2 separate regions of the Homo sapiens genome follow, and region 2 is linked to region 1. The links are contacts of gene promoters, found by promoter capture Hi-C in human tissues and cell types (Jung and others, 2019). All regions are on one chromosome and are shown on one strand. Each heading gives the region's core, a stretch centred on a gene start or on the middle of the fragment in contact. The rest is flanking DNA. Distances are from core to core; before and after follow the strand shown.

Region 1 (6,376 bases), core at 1,020-3,519:
AATGCCAAATTCAGGAAACATGCATCCTATAAACAACTTAAACACTCTCTGTTCTTTGTAACTGTTTTTTCCAGAAGCACACTGACACTTCTGCAAAGTGAAGTGCCTTTCCTGCCTGCACAGCCCCATGATTTGCTCCCTCTCAGGGCCCTCTAATGCACCCCTAAGCTACTAAAGCCCAGACATAAGATTTGATCAATAAACCTAGAAAGAACTCAGTGCATTACTGCCAATTGTGTCCATCACAGAAAGTACCACCTGGAGACTCTTGAGGAAAAAAATGAGGAAGGGGGAGATTTTTGAAAGGTTTTATCATCTGTATTACAAATTATATTTTGTTGTACTTGATCCTTGAATAGAATAATCATCAAACTATGTTCAGTCTTCTTCAAGTGGGGGATGGTCATGTGTAATTTTATGGTTTGGGGAGTGTGCCTCATAGAGATAAATAAAATTAAAAGTACCATTAGTATGCCCGCTAAAAGATAAAACTCACACAAACCACTTCCCCAAATGATAGTGCTGTCTCCTGCGTCCTGATTTTTGCGTCCACCCTGCACCTCTCCCTGCAGAAAGCTGGCTGGCATTCACTACCGCCTCACTCTGGCAAAGGACAGGATGTCGAAAACCCATTAAGAAAGCTTCTCATTTTCTGTTCCTTCATAACATGATGGCAACTCCTGGCAACTCCAAGATGAAAGGCAAAAAAGAAAATAAAAACTACCTGGGGCCCCCTACCAGAATGAGTGGTTAATCTAATGGAGAGAAAAGCAGAGATTTATACATATTTTAAAATGCTTCCTGGGGACAAAGCAGATCTAATGAATTGCTGAGCCACAATCTACTGGAAAATCCATAAATGTTCGTCCCTGCTGTCACAGGGCTAGAGGATTTTTTTTTTTAATGAAATGCTTTAATGCTAACCTGACAGGGCTAACCTGACAGGTTTAAGTCAGCTATGAGACGTGATTTGCATTCATTTCGCTTCTAAATCCCTAAAGATCAGCAACAATATTGACCCGCAATTATATATCCTACGTTGCACTGTTCAAGATGCCATTTGAGGCTGGGAAAGTAGTGGTTTAGCAACACCAGGCGGCTCTATGATGCTAAAATAACAACGCAACACTGGATTCCGAACCCAAGTACTCATCTTTTAAAACCCAGTGCCGCACCAGGACCCACATTCAAAGCTCGCGTCCCTTCAAGTTGAATCTTCCGGCTTTGTGCGATTTACCCTCTCAAACTTTCTAGTTTGCAAGTCAGAATTACTTTGAACGTCCCCTCTTCTGGACTCCCCTCCCCAAAGGGACTGGCGGCAAAGGAGAATAGAATGCAGATGGTTAATAGTTCAAATGAAATTTAAAAACCTATAAACCAATATTTTTTTAGAGGAGAAAAGCGTTCACCAAACCGCCACCCGGCAAGCGAGCATCCGATTTCCATCCGGAGGAAAAAATATTTTAAAAACCAGACATAAAATTCCCTTTGCAAGAAAAGTGGCCTCTAAACTCCCTTGCCAAGGACACTGGGAGGAAGCAGAAAAGCAAAGACCAAGCTCGTACTTTTCAGTCCGCGGCTTGTGTGCCGCGAGGAGAGGCGCAAAGGGTGACACACCAGGAAAGGTGAACGCAGAGGGAGCGGGAGCCCGCGGCGGGGCAGGGTGGGGGCGGAACGGACGAGGTACCCAAGGTGCGGAGAGAGGGGCAACCGGGCGGAGGGCAGCTCCGAGGCTGCAGGCGGGACGGGCGGGGTCCCCGGCGCAGCCCGGATCGCCGCCGCTAAGTAAAGTTAATACTTACTCAGTTTCGCAACTGCGCCGCCCCCGCAGGCCGCCCAGAGGGGCCGGCCGGGGCGCTGGGGACGCGGCGGCACCCGGAGCTCCGCGGCCGCCCAGCGCCCGTCCCCGCGCCGCACTCCCCGGCACTCCCCGGCGCTCCCCGCGCCGCGCGCCCCGCACCGGCTGGAGGCCCCGGCCCCCCGGCGTTCCCTCTCCGCGCACCTCCCGGCCCGCGCTAGGTGAGTGTGGACGCCACTGGCGGGGGTGCCGCGGTGCGCGAGCGCTCGGCCAGCGGCAGAGACGCCGCGGGAGCCGCCCCCAGCGCCAACGCCGCCGCGGGCGGGAAGGGCGAGGCTCGGCGAGGCTGGGCGAGGAGCTGGGCGGCAGACGCTGAGCGGGGCGCGGCGCGGGGCGCCGGACGAGCGCGGGCGTAGGAGGAGCGCGGGCGTAGGAGTCGGCGACCCGCTCGCTCCCGCGGCCGGTGCCTCTGGGCTGGGGGCCGGGCTGGGGGCCGGGCCGGGCCGGGCCGGGCCGGGCGGCCAGGCGGCTCCGCCCCTTCGCCGGGCAGCGGCTGAGCGCGCGAGAGGAGCGGCGCGGGGGCGCCCCCCTCGGCCGGGCGCTCGGGTTTCAGCCGCCGCTCCTCCGCGCCCCGCCCGCGCCTGGCCCGCTCGCCGGCGCCGGGAGAGACCTCGTAACGGAACTGGGACGCCAGCGCTGCATTGTGGGAGCTTTTAAAGCGGCGGGGAGCTCGGCGCGACCCTCGGGCCCACCGGGCCACGCTCGCCCGGCCCGCGACGCCCCCCCGCTGTCGCCTGGCCCGCGACGCACCGAGGCCTGAGGACCCGAAAGCCGGGCGCGGGGAGATGACCGGTGGCTCGTGACGGTCCCACGGGCAAAATCTTCCATCGCCCGGGGCTGAGACTTGTCAAACTGCCCTCTACGGTCACCCGGAAAGTAGGAGGCTTTTTCTGCAGAGGGGAAAAAAATCAAAAAGAGCCGTTCCATCCCCCCTCCAAGGACTGGGTTTGAATTGCTTTTCATCTGCAGTGGCTGTGATTCAGCGTCCCTCTTAGCAGCAGGCAATGACAGAGGCAGGAGAGGGGAAAAAAAAAAAGAAAGAAAGAAAAAACACAGCAAATGAATCAAACGGACGTGAGTAACAAAAGTTTAGAAAGAGCTGGGCTCGTATTCAGAAAAAACGCCTCATCCCCCCGCCCCGCTGCACTCCCAACCCCTTTAAAAATAGCAGATAATCAAGAAAGGAAACGGGTGCTTTCATATGGAAATACAGATGTGTATGTTGTTTTCAATATTCTACTGTTTTTTTGTGTGTGGCATGCAATTACTCAGGCACTGGGCAAAATTCAGCCTTTGGATTTTGTGGTCACACATACCCCAACTCCGCAACAGCTATTAATTTGCAGGGCGATGGGGTGCGGATAGTGGATGAGATACAAGAAAGCATTCCAATTAAAATGCCCCCCCCCACCCCGCCTTTTAATTTTCCAGACACTTGCTTTTATTTTTCTTTTTTTAAACATCATCAAAACAAGAATATTAAACTTGAAGCAGAATTTGTTACAGCGTATCTGACTCAGGACCTGATTTAAGGTTTGGGGTTTTTTGGCCCTTTGTTTCTTCCTCTTGTTTTTTGACCTTTAGTTACTCCACACCTCATTAGTTCCTTGACCTGCAGGTGGACTGAGAAGAGAGCCATGGTAAGACTCAAATTTGTCAAATCAACATTTGGAGAGGAGAAAGTTCACTGTGATTCAAATGCAAAACCAAAGGGAATATGATTTAAAAGTCAACCTGGAGGGCATGGATCCTCCCTTAACCCTACTTGACTCTTTTCAAAGGAGTTGCCTAGCCTTAAGGTGAATGTTTCCTAACCTCTCATTCCCTTCTCAGCCTTTCACTCCACTGAACAACATCAGCCATTGCTTAATTGCCAAATCTAATGGAAAAATTTAATTCCCATCTTGTGCCCTTTGTGGCATTTGCCAATGTTGACCTCTCCTTCTTAGAACTTTCTGCCTTTTGGCCGGGCGCGGTGGCTCATGCCTATAACCCCAGCACTTTGGGAGGCCAAGGCTGGCAGATTGCCTGAGGTTGGGAGTTCGAGACCAGCCTGACCAACATGGAGAAACCCCGTCTCTACTAAAAATACAAAATTAGCCGGGCATGGTGGCACATGCCTGCAATCCCAGCAACTGGGAGGCTGAGGCAGGAGAATCGCTTGAACCTGGGAGGCAGAGGTTGCAGTGAGCCGAGATCACGCCATTGCACCCCAGCCTGGGCAACAAGAGCGAAACTCCATCTCAAAAAAAAAAAAAAAAAAAAAAAAAAAACTTTCCTCCTTTCTTTGGCTGTGGTAGTGATCCCTCTTTTGTGTACTTCTTGAAGCAGGTAGCAGGCAAGAGTGTGGTTATCGTTGGACCAGGATTCAGGATCTGACTGAGTAGCTGACTCTTAATCCAGTTTGTGTTGATCACCAGGAGGATCTGGACCTCAGTATTACCACATCTAGAGGTGAGCAAGTTGACTGACTCTTGATAACTAACTCTTATATGATGAGCATTTATATCAGGACAGAACTTCCTGATTGGATAACAATACCTACTATTTAGGAAAAACCCTTCCTAAAAATCCAGGTATCCTCACCTCCAGTCTTACTGATGGCTGCCAAAGTCAGTGAATTTGCCTCCATTCAGTGCTGGATAAGTGCAGAAAAATCTTTACCCTACCTAGCCCATTTGGTTAATGCGTTCTTTCTTCAGAGTGTAGTACAATTTGTTTTAAGCTTTTTTTTTTTTTTGGTAGCTATAATCACATCCCTGTTAAGCCTTCCTGAGATCACACCAAATGTCCTTGATGGGAATTGTAAACAACCCTTACTTCTGGTTTCTAATGATATTCCAGGAAAGGAGCCTAACTAGAGTCAGTGAGTATTCATGCACTTCAAACCCTGTGACATAATAAGATTTGATTTTTAAGAAAACAACTTGAGAGGATGGATTCAGAAAAGAGGCAGATCCAAGGGAGAGTCTAAACTGGAGAGCAGTGGCAATGAACAGGAGGAGGCCATATCGAGAGATGAATTGATCATCTTATAGACCTGGAGGTCAGAAATCTAAAATCAAAGTGTGGGCTGTGTTCCTTCTGGAGGATCGAGGGGAGAATCCATTTCCTTGCCCTTTTCAGCCTCTAGATGCCACCTGCATTCCTTGGCTTATAGTCCCTTTCTCTATGTTTAAGGCCAACTGCATAGCATCTTCCCCCATTTCTTTGTAACTTCTGCTTCATGGTGATGGGGACATCTCTCTCTCTGATCGTAGGAATTGATTTAGATGCTTTTCTAGCCATATGTATTATGAACTAAATGCAGTTGAATTACTTATGGGAGGAAATGGCAGGTGACCTCATTACTTGTCAAATCATCGTTAGATAACTGACTTGACTGTTAAGATTGCTGAAGCAGTGATTTATTACCTCAGCTAAATCTGTATCAATCTGGTGACCCGTGTAACTGAAACCAAGATGTTAACACTGTAAGAAAACCTAGCTTATGTTTGCAGCTCCTGAGAATAAATCCCTTTATCTTGAAATACCTGGAAATCCCTTTTTAATGTCCAGTGGAGTCATATTGCCAAGTTTGAGAAATGTGTCTAGACCAGTATTTCCCAAACAGCCCACCAGACAACACCAGCCTGTAAGATGGTGATATTGTTTGGATGTTTTTTCCCTCCAAATTTCGTGTTGAAATGTGACCGCCATGTTGGAGTTGGACCTAGTGGAAGGTATTTGGGTGATGGGGAATCTCTTGTGTGGCTATGTACCTTCCCTGCAGTAATGAGTTCATGAAAGATCTGGATGTTTAAAAGAGTCTGTGATCTTCCTCCTCTCTCTCTTGCTCCTGTTCTTGCCAGGTGATATGCCAACTCCACCTTTGCCTTCCACCATGTTTGGAAGCTCCCTGAGGCCTCACCAGGAGCAGATGCTCGTCCCATGCTTCCTATAAGCCTGCAGAACTGTGAGCCATAATAAACTGTGAATTATAAATTGCCTTTATAGCAATGCAAATGGACCAGTACAGATGGGATGCTGGGAAGACAGTTGTTTCCACCTTCAGTAAAGTCCGTGGAACACAGTTGTGACTATATTCTAGGCCAGCCAAGATGCTTGTACTCAGAAAGGAGTGGTCTCAGGACCATAAGAAAGTGAAAAAATAAAAATAAGAAAATAAAGAAGGGATTGTCAATGAATCAGAATTCATCAAGGTCAAAGTCTTAGGAAATTCCTTCATGAGGAAGTCTAGGGGGGCTATGGAAATGAAATTTTTAAACAAATAGGTATGTGGTGCTGGCAGGAATAAATTATGGACTTATGAATATAACATAAGATTCTTTATTACCTGGTCTCACCCGTCTTTCCACCTCTGCCCCCCTTCTTGCCCGACTCTGTGTATCACCCATAATAAACTACTTACAGCTTCCTAGTGTTAAATTTACCCTAAAGCTGCCTCCTTCAATATTTTAAGTTTAACCTAAAGGTTCTTCATACATAGTGAACTATAACCCAATGATTAAACAGATT
Region 2 (6,784 bases), core at 4,023-6,522, 260 kb after region 1:
TTTGCTCCTCAGCCTGCTTGAAATCCTCTCCTGAAAAAGCTTTTTCTTTCTTTGCCACATGGCTAGGCTGCAAATTTTCCAAACTTTTATGCTCTGCTTCCCTTTTAAATATAAATTCCAACTTTAAGTCATTTCTTTGCTTCCACTGTCAGAAGCAACCAGGCCACATCTTGAATGCTTTGTTGCTTAGAAATTTCTTCTGCCAGATACCCTAAATCATCACTGTAAAGTTCAAACTTCCACAGATCCCTAGGGCAGGAACACAATGCAGCCAAGTTCTTTGCTAAGGCATAACATATGTGACCTTTGCTCCAATTCCCAATAAATTCCTCATTTCCATCTGAGACCTCAGCAGCCTGGACTTCACTTTCAGCATTTTGGTCACAACTATTTAGCTAGTCTCTAAGAAGTTCCAAACTTTCCCTCATCTTCCTGTATTCTTCTGAGCCCTCCAAACTCTTCCAACCTCTGCCCATTGCCCGGTTCCAAAGCTGCTGTCACATTTTCAGGTATTTTAATAGCAATGTCCCATTCCTTGGTACCAATTTATTTTACTAAGCCATTCTTGCATTGCTACAAAGAATTACCTGAGACTAGATAATTTATAAAGAAAAGAGATTTAATCGGTTCACAGTTTTGCAGGCTTTACAAGAAGCATGCTACTGGCATCTGCTCAGCTTCTAGGGAGGCCTCAGGAAGTTTCCAGTCATGGCAGAAGGCAAAGGGGGAGCAGGCACATCACATGGCAAAAGCAGGAGCAAGAGAGAGAGAGTTGCGGGAAGGTGCCACTCACTTTTAAGTGACCAGATCTTGTGTGAACTCAGAATGAGAGCTCACTTCTCACTAAGGGGAAAGCCCAAGTCATTCATGAGGGATCCACCCCCGTGATCCAAACACCTCCCACCAGGCCCCACCTCCAACATTGGGGATTACATTTCAACATGAGATTTGGGCAAGGACAAATATCCAAACTATATCAGAGGTCATGAGGTTGGAAAGAGAAACTAATGATAATACTAAATTAGATAATGCAGTTAATCACCTACTTTAATCCTCCCCATAACCCTAAAGAATAGATACCATTATTTTACCCATTTTATTGATGAGAAAACCAAGGCTATCAAAGCTAAGCAATTAGTCTGATAAAACACAGCTAGAAAGTGAAAATGATGGGATCTGAAGTCTGATTGCTTTTCTAATTCCAGAATTCAAGTACTTAACCACTGTGGCATACTGCCTGCTATATATGAGAAAAAAATGGTTTCAGGAAATAATGTCTTGTTTCCTTTACCAAATACAGCTTATTTTCAGATCAAATGCTAACTTGATCAATAATGTGGGAATAAAAACCAAATTAGAAAAGCCAAGGCTATTTACTTTGAACTTGCTATGGTAAAGAAGTTAGCCATCATTGCTTGCACTTTGGCAAAAACTCAAAGGCAGGCAGGGGAGTGAGAAAGCTTTGTAGTTGAAAAAGGGAAGGCTCTGGGTATGCCCTGATGGGAGGCTGTTTCATGCGGAAGCTGTAAGCAGGCTAACTAGGGGTGGGGCACCCTGTGTGATTGGTTAGGGGTCCATATTTAACTTTCTCTGATTGGTCATTAGTTGGAAATGAAGTGGGGAGGCAAAAAATAGGAAAACTGTCAGCTATTAATCAAGTCCTGGCCATTTGGGGCTGATGGTTACAAAAGTTATTGTTTAGCTTCCTGGATTGTCACTGGAGATAGTAATGTGGTTTCCTGTGAATTTGACTTTTAGCAGGCTAGCTTTCTGGGTTGTTTATTGCATGTTTATTGCATGTAAGGTTTATTATATGTAAGGTTGGTTTCCTGAGCAGGTTGCTGCAGGTTATGGATCAGAATTCTAATTTTGTATATGTTCTGGCCATTGGCTGTTTGAATATTCAGTCTCAATACTTTTTTAGGGCTTAATGACCTTCAAACTTCTTAAGATACTTTCTGATTCTGGTGAAAGAAACAATAACATCATTCAAGACATAAATGTTAGAAATGTAACTGAAAAATTTACTTGGGAGTACAAAATTGAAACTGAGTATTTGAGGTTTACAGCCATACACTATCTTACCCCAGAGGCAAAAACATGTCTAATGTACAGGTATCTAGGTATATATTTCAACTTAGCCTGTGCCCACTCTCTATACTTTCCCTTGCCTTGCAGGGGAGAAGACTGGGAACTACACTTCCCAGAACCCCTACCCAGCAGGCTGTAGGTTAGAGTCTCTGATGAAATGGCCTCCCTTGAAATATAGAAAGAAGAAAAGCTATGACTAGTATCTTTTCTTATTTTTCTTTATCTTCCCAATGTTTAGCATAAGACCTAGCACAAATTAGTCACTCAATAATAATTGTAAAATGAAGTCAAATTAAATAAATTGATGAATAGATAAAGAAGCAGGAATTTTGAAGCAGACCAACACAGAAAAGTAGCTGATCAAAAATAAAAGTAAGTATAAGAAAGAAAATAAAATCATACATGACAGTTAAAATATGTAGTCTGCTAATAAGGCCCTTCCACAAAGAGAAAATTGAGGACCAAAGTATTAATGAGGAGCATTCTTAGAATTATCTTACAGTTTATTTCTGTTGTAATTTGCCTTTTAATGCTGTTCCTCACATTCCTTCATTTCATGGTTCTTAATTCCCTTCAAACTAATCTCAAATCTGTTCACTTTCGGCCATCTCTATTGTTACTATCTTAATCCAAGCAGTCCTTATCTTTCTCAGGGACTTCTGAAGTAATCTCTGGACTGGGATCTGCATCCACTCCAGTCTCCTCCACTTCATTCCAGTGAGCTTCTCTGTCTAGTACGGTGCTAGTGTGAACTAAGAAGTGCTGTAAGTATAAAATACACATTAAATTTCAAACACTTCATATGAAGAAAGAATGTAAGATGTCTTAATAGTAAAATTTTACATGGATTATATAATGATACAATAATACTTTGGGTGTGTGGGGTCAAATAAACTATATTATCAAAATTAATTTGATTTGTTTCATTTTCCTTTTTAAAATGTAACCAATAGAAAATTTAAATTTTCAATGTGTCTTTCAATATATTTCTATGGGACAGCTCTGCTCTAACCAAAAATTAGTGGTCTTTTAAAAACGAAGACTAGCTGATATTACTACCCTGCTTTAAACCTTGCATTTAGGATAGAAACCACCCAAATGGTGGAGGTGGTGCCTGGTAGGAGGTGGTTGGATCATGAGAGTGAATGTTGATGCTATTTTCATTATAGTGAGTGAGTTCTCATGTGATCTGGTCATTTAAAAGTGTGTGGCACCTTCCCCCAATTTCTCTCTTGCTCCTGCTCTGGTCACATTAGTCATGCCTGCTCCCTTTTGCCTTCTACCATGATTGTAAGTTTCCTGAGGCCTCCCCAGAAGCAGAATTACTATGCTTCCTGTACAACCTGTGGAACCACGAGTTAATTAAATCTCTTTTCTTTACAAATTGCCTGGTCTCAGGTATTTCTTTATAACAATGCAAGAATGAACAAATATAGCATTTTTATTAGGCTCATGTGATTTCAGACAAACAAGGAACATTAGCTATCACCTAGACAAATATTCTTGTTTTAGATATGAGGAAACTGATACAGTTTAATTTCAGTAAGAACGGGGGGAAATTCTTTTCTATGATTTGTATATTATGGAGGCAGTCACCTTTATATTGAGACACTGTAACATATGATACACGAGATGAGATGATCCTTCCGCACTCCTACAAAGAATGCACAGGTTTGCCACCTACCATCGTGTTATATGGTATGAATCCACGCTAGGGCACTATGTGTGAGGAAAAGTCGGGGAGGATGAGGCTTTACACCTCAGAAAAGCCTGGGCCATCCTTTGCTAATTCTAAGTAATGCAAGTATTTATTTATTTTTTTTTTCAAATAATTTAAATTATATCAAAGGAGTGAAGCCAATTGCAGATGTCTGTTATTTTTCATCTTTGTTTGTCTGAGAAAAGTCTTTTTTAAGCCCTGATTTCTGAAACATACTTTCACTGTTTATAGAATTCTACATTGACAAGTACTTGAAAGATGTCAATTGTTTTCTTTCTTATCTTTGTTTCTCTGTATGTTGTGTGTCTGTTTTTCTTTGGCTGCTTTTAAGGTTGTTTATTGTTAGTTGTCAGAAACTTGATTATGATGTGACTTGCTGTGGTGTTCTTTATGTTTATTCTTCTTTGGGTTTGTTGAGCGTCTTGGATCTGTGGTTTAATAGTTTTCAGCAAATTTGAAAAATCGTTAGCCATTCTTTCTTCAAACAGTTTTTTCTGTCCCTCTCTCTCTGATATCCTCTAGGACTCCAATTATGCCTATATTAGGCTACTTTATACTGTCTCACTGGTCATTTTCAGTTTAAAAAAATCTTTATGCTTAATTTTGGATAATTTTGTTGCAATGTCTTAACGTTGATATTTTTCTTTAGTAAGGCCTAATCTACTGCTAAAACCATACAATAAAGTTTTTCATCTCAGATAATGCATTTTTTAATCTCCAGAAGTTCTATTTGAATCCTTTTTATATCTGCCACTTCTCTCCTTATCATGATTATGTTCTACTCTACCATTTTCAACATGTGGATCACATGTATACTAGCCATTTAAATATTCTTGTCTGCTGGTTTCATCATACCTGGGTCTGTTTTCTTCATTGATTTTTCTCCTGGTTAATTATCCTTTTTTGCTACTTCTTTGCATATTGGTAATTTTTAATTGAATGCTAGATATGGTGAATGTTACATTGTTGGTGCTGGATTTTGTTGTGGTTCTTCAAATAGCATTTGGTTTTTATCTGCATACAATTAACTTAGTTGGAATCAGTTAGTTCCTTTAGAGACTCAATTTTAAGCTTAGCTAGAGTAAATTCTGAGCAGCCTTTGGTCTTGGGTTAATTTAGCCCCACCGCTAAGGCCTCCTGATAATTCTTCCCAATGCTCCATGCATACGGCAATATTTTTACTTGGCTGGTGGGAACACAAACTATTCCCAGCCCTGTGTGAGCTCTAGACATTGTTATGCCTATTCCTTTCCTTTCTTGTAGCTTGTGCTTTCCCTAGCCTAGGGTAGTATTCTCACATGCATGTACTGATTAGCACACAGCTGAAAGACTCAAAGGGAACCCTCTGCAGATTTCTTTTTCTTTCTCTCTTTTTTTTTTTTAGATGGAGTTTTGCTCTTGTTGCCCAAGCTGGGGTGCAATGGTGCCATCTTGGCTCGCTGCAACCTCTGCCTCCCAGGTTCAAGCTATTCTCTTGCCTCAGCCTCCCCAATAGCTGGGATTACAGGCGCTCACCATGATGCCTGGCTAATTTTTTGCATTTTTAGTAGAAATGGGGTTTCACCATGTTAGCAAGGCTGGTCTCAAACTCCTGACCTCATGTGATCTGCCCACCACCTCGGCCTCTCAAAGTGCTGGGATTACAGGTGTGAGCCACCATGCCCAGCCCCCTCTGCAGATTTCTAGAGCACTCCTTCTCTCTCTCTCTCTGCCTCTCCTTGTGTCTGTCTCTCTCTCTCTCCACTCTGGCACTCTGCCTCATAAATTCTAGTCATCTTAGTCACCTGGAACTCTGATCTCTGTATCGTCAACACAGCAAGACTATCATGCTACGTTAGATCTATCCCTGCTCTGTGTCTGGGACACCCTCCCAAGGCGGTAAGCAAGTGCAGTCCTAGGGCTCATCTGTGTCTCTTCTCACAGGGAACTCAGTCCTTTGGTTTGGTCTGTTGTCCAATGTCTGAAAACTATTTTCTCACACATTTTACATTTCTTTCTTTCTTTTTTTTTTCTAGAGACAATGTTTCACTCTATCACCCAGGCTGAAGTGCAGTAGTGCCATCTCAGCTCACTTCAACCTCCACCTCCTGAGTTCAAGCCCTTCTTGTGCCTCAGCCACTCGAATAGCTGGGATTAGAGATGTGAACCACCACAGCTTGCTAATTTTTGTGTTTTTAGTAGAGACAGGGTTTTGGCATGTTGGCCAGGCTTGTCTTGAACTCCTGGCCTCATGTGATCTGCCTGCCTCGGCCTCCAAAAGTGCTGGGATTATAGGCGTGAGCCACAGTCCAGCCTACATTAATTTCAAGTGGAGAAAATCAGTTCCCTGGTACTTCGTTTTGGCCAAGAACTGATATCTCCAGTTGTTTGTTTTCTATAAGAAGAAACCATGTCTTTTGCACCTCATAGACTCCAAGAATTTTGTAGCTCAAGGGACTCCTAGTCTAACTGATGTCATTATGGGTAGCTGGTAAGTGATACTCATGAAGGAACAAAAGCACACAAAAATATGGCTTTATGCTACACAGGGAGACATTTTACTCCAGCTGTGTAAATAACAACAGTCATACCACAATTATTAAATAAAATTGATCAATGATGACATTAAGGTAGAGTAAGAATGTTCTGGGCATTGCCACCAGTTCAATTGTCTTTGGGAGGTGCTAGTAATTATCTGTATAACAAAATGTTTCTCTTAAAGGGTTTAAAGAAGAACAAAATCACAATTTAGTTCCATTGGCTGCTAGTTTCCATTTCTATCCAATGGGCGTAGGACTCCTTTTCCTTTCCAGGAACCATTTAAGTAAATGGACAACTCCAGTACCTAATTGCATTCTTGCTTCTTTTTCCCTTTACAGAGGTGCTGGTGGTATTTCACTGATGCTTATCTGCCTGCTATCATAAAAGTAACTTCAGTTTGGTTTAAAATGCACCTGAATCTAAAATCTCTTTACTGCTAGTCCTCCTTGTTCA

The links. The method cuts DNA at HindIII sites, captures the fragments that hold promoters and counts their contacts. A contact is called where the count stands out against the background at its distance.
Region 2: a contact is called between a fragment that was not itself captured here and the fragment with the promoter of RASSF8 in region 1, in 1 of the 25 tissues and cell types used here (thymus).

What each region holds. Positions count from the first base shown.
Region 1 is chr12:25,954,575-25,960,950 of GRCh38, reverse strand. It overlaps RASSF8 (Ras association domain family member 8), which reads right to left and starts at 2,269. Exons shown (of 6, transcript NM_001394098.1): 1 at 1,803-2,269. It overlaps RASSF8-AS1 (RASSF8 antisense RNA 1), which reads left to right and starts at 1,509. Exons shown (of 4, transcript NR_038228.1): 1 at 1,509-1,625; 2 at 4,187-4,312; 3 at 4,604-4,724; 4 at 5,710-6,297. RefSeq lists silencers at 1,658-1,707, 1,848-1,897, 1,968-2,067, 2,168-2,657. The HindIII fragment of the contact is 6,427 bases long and covers 1-5,721 here.
Region 2 is chr12:25,700,319-25,707,102 of GRCh38, reverse strand. No RefSeq gene overlaps it. Among named protein-coding and RNA genes, the nearest start is that of LMNTD1, 150 kb to the right of the region's middle. The HindIII fragment of the contact is 4,202 bases long and covers 3,172-6,784 here.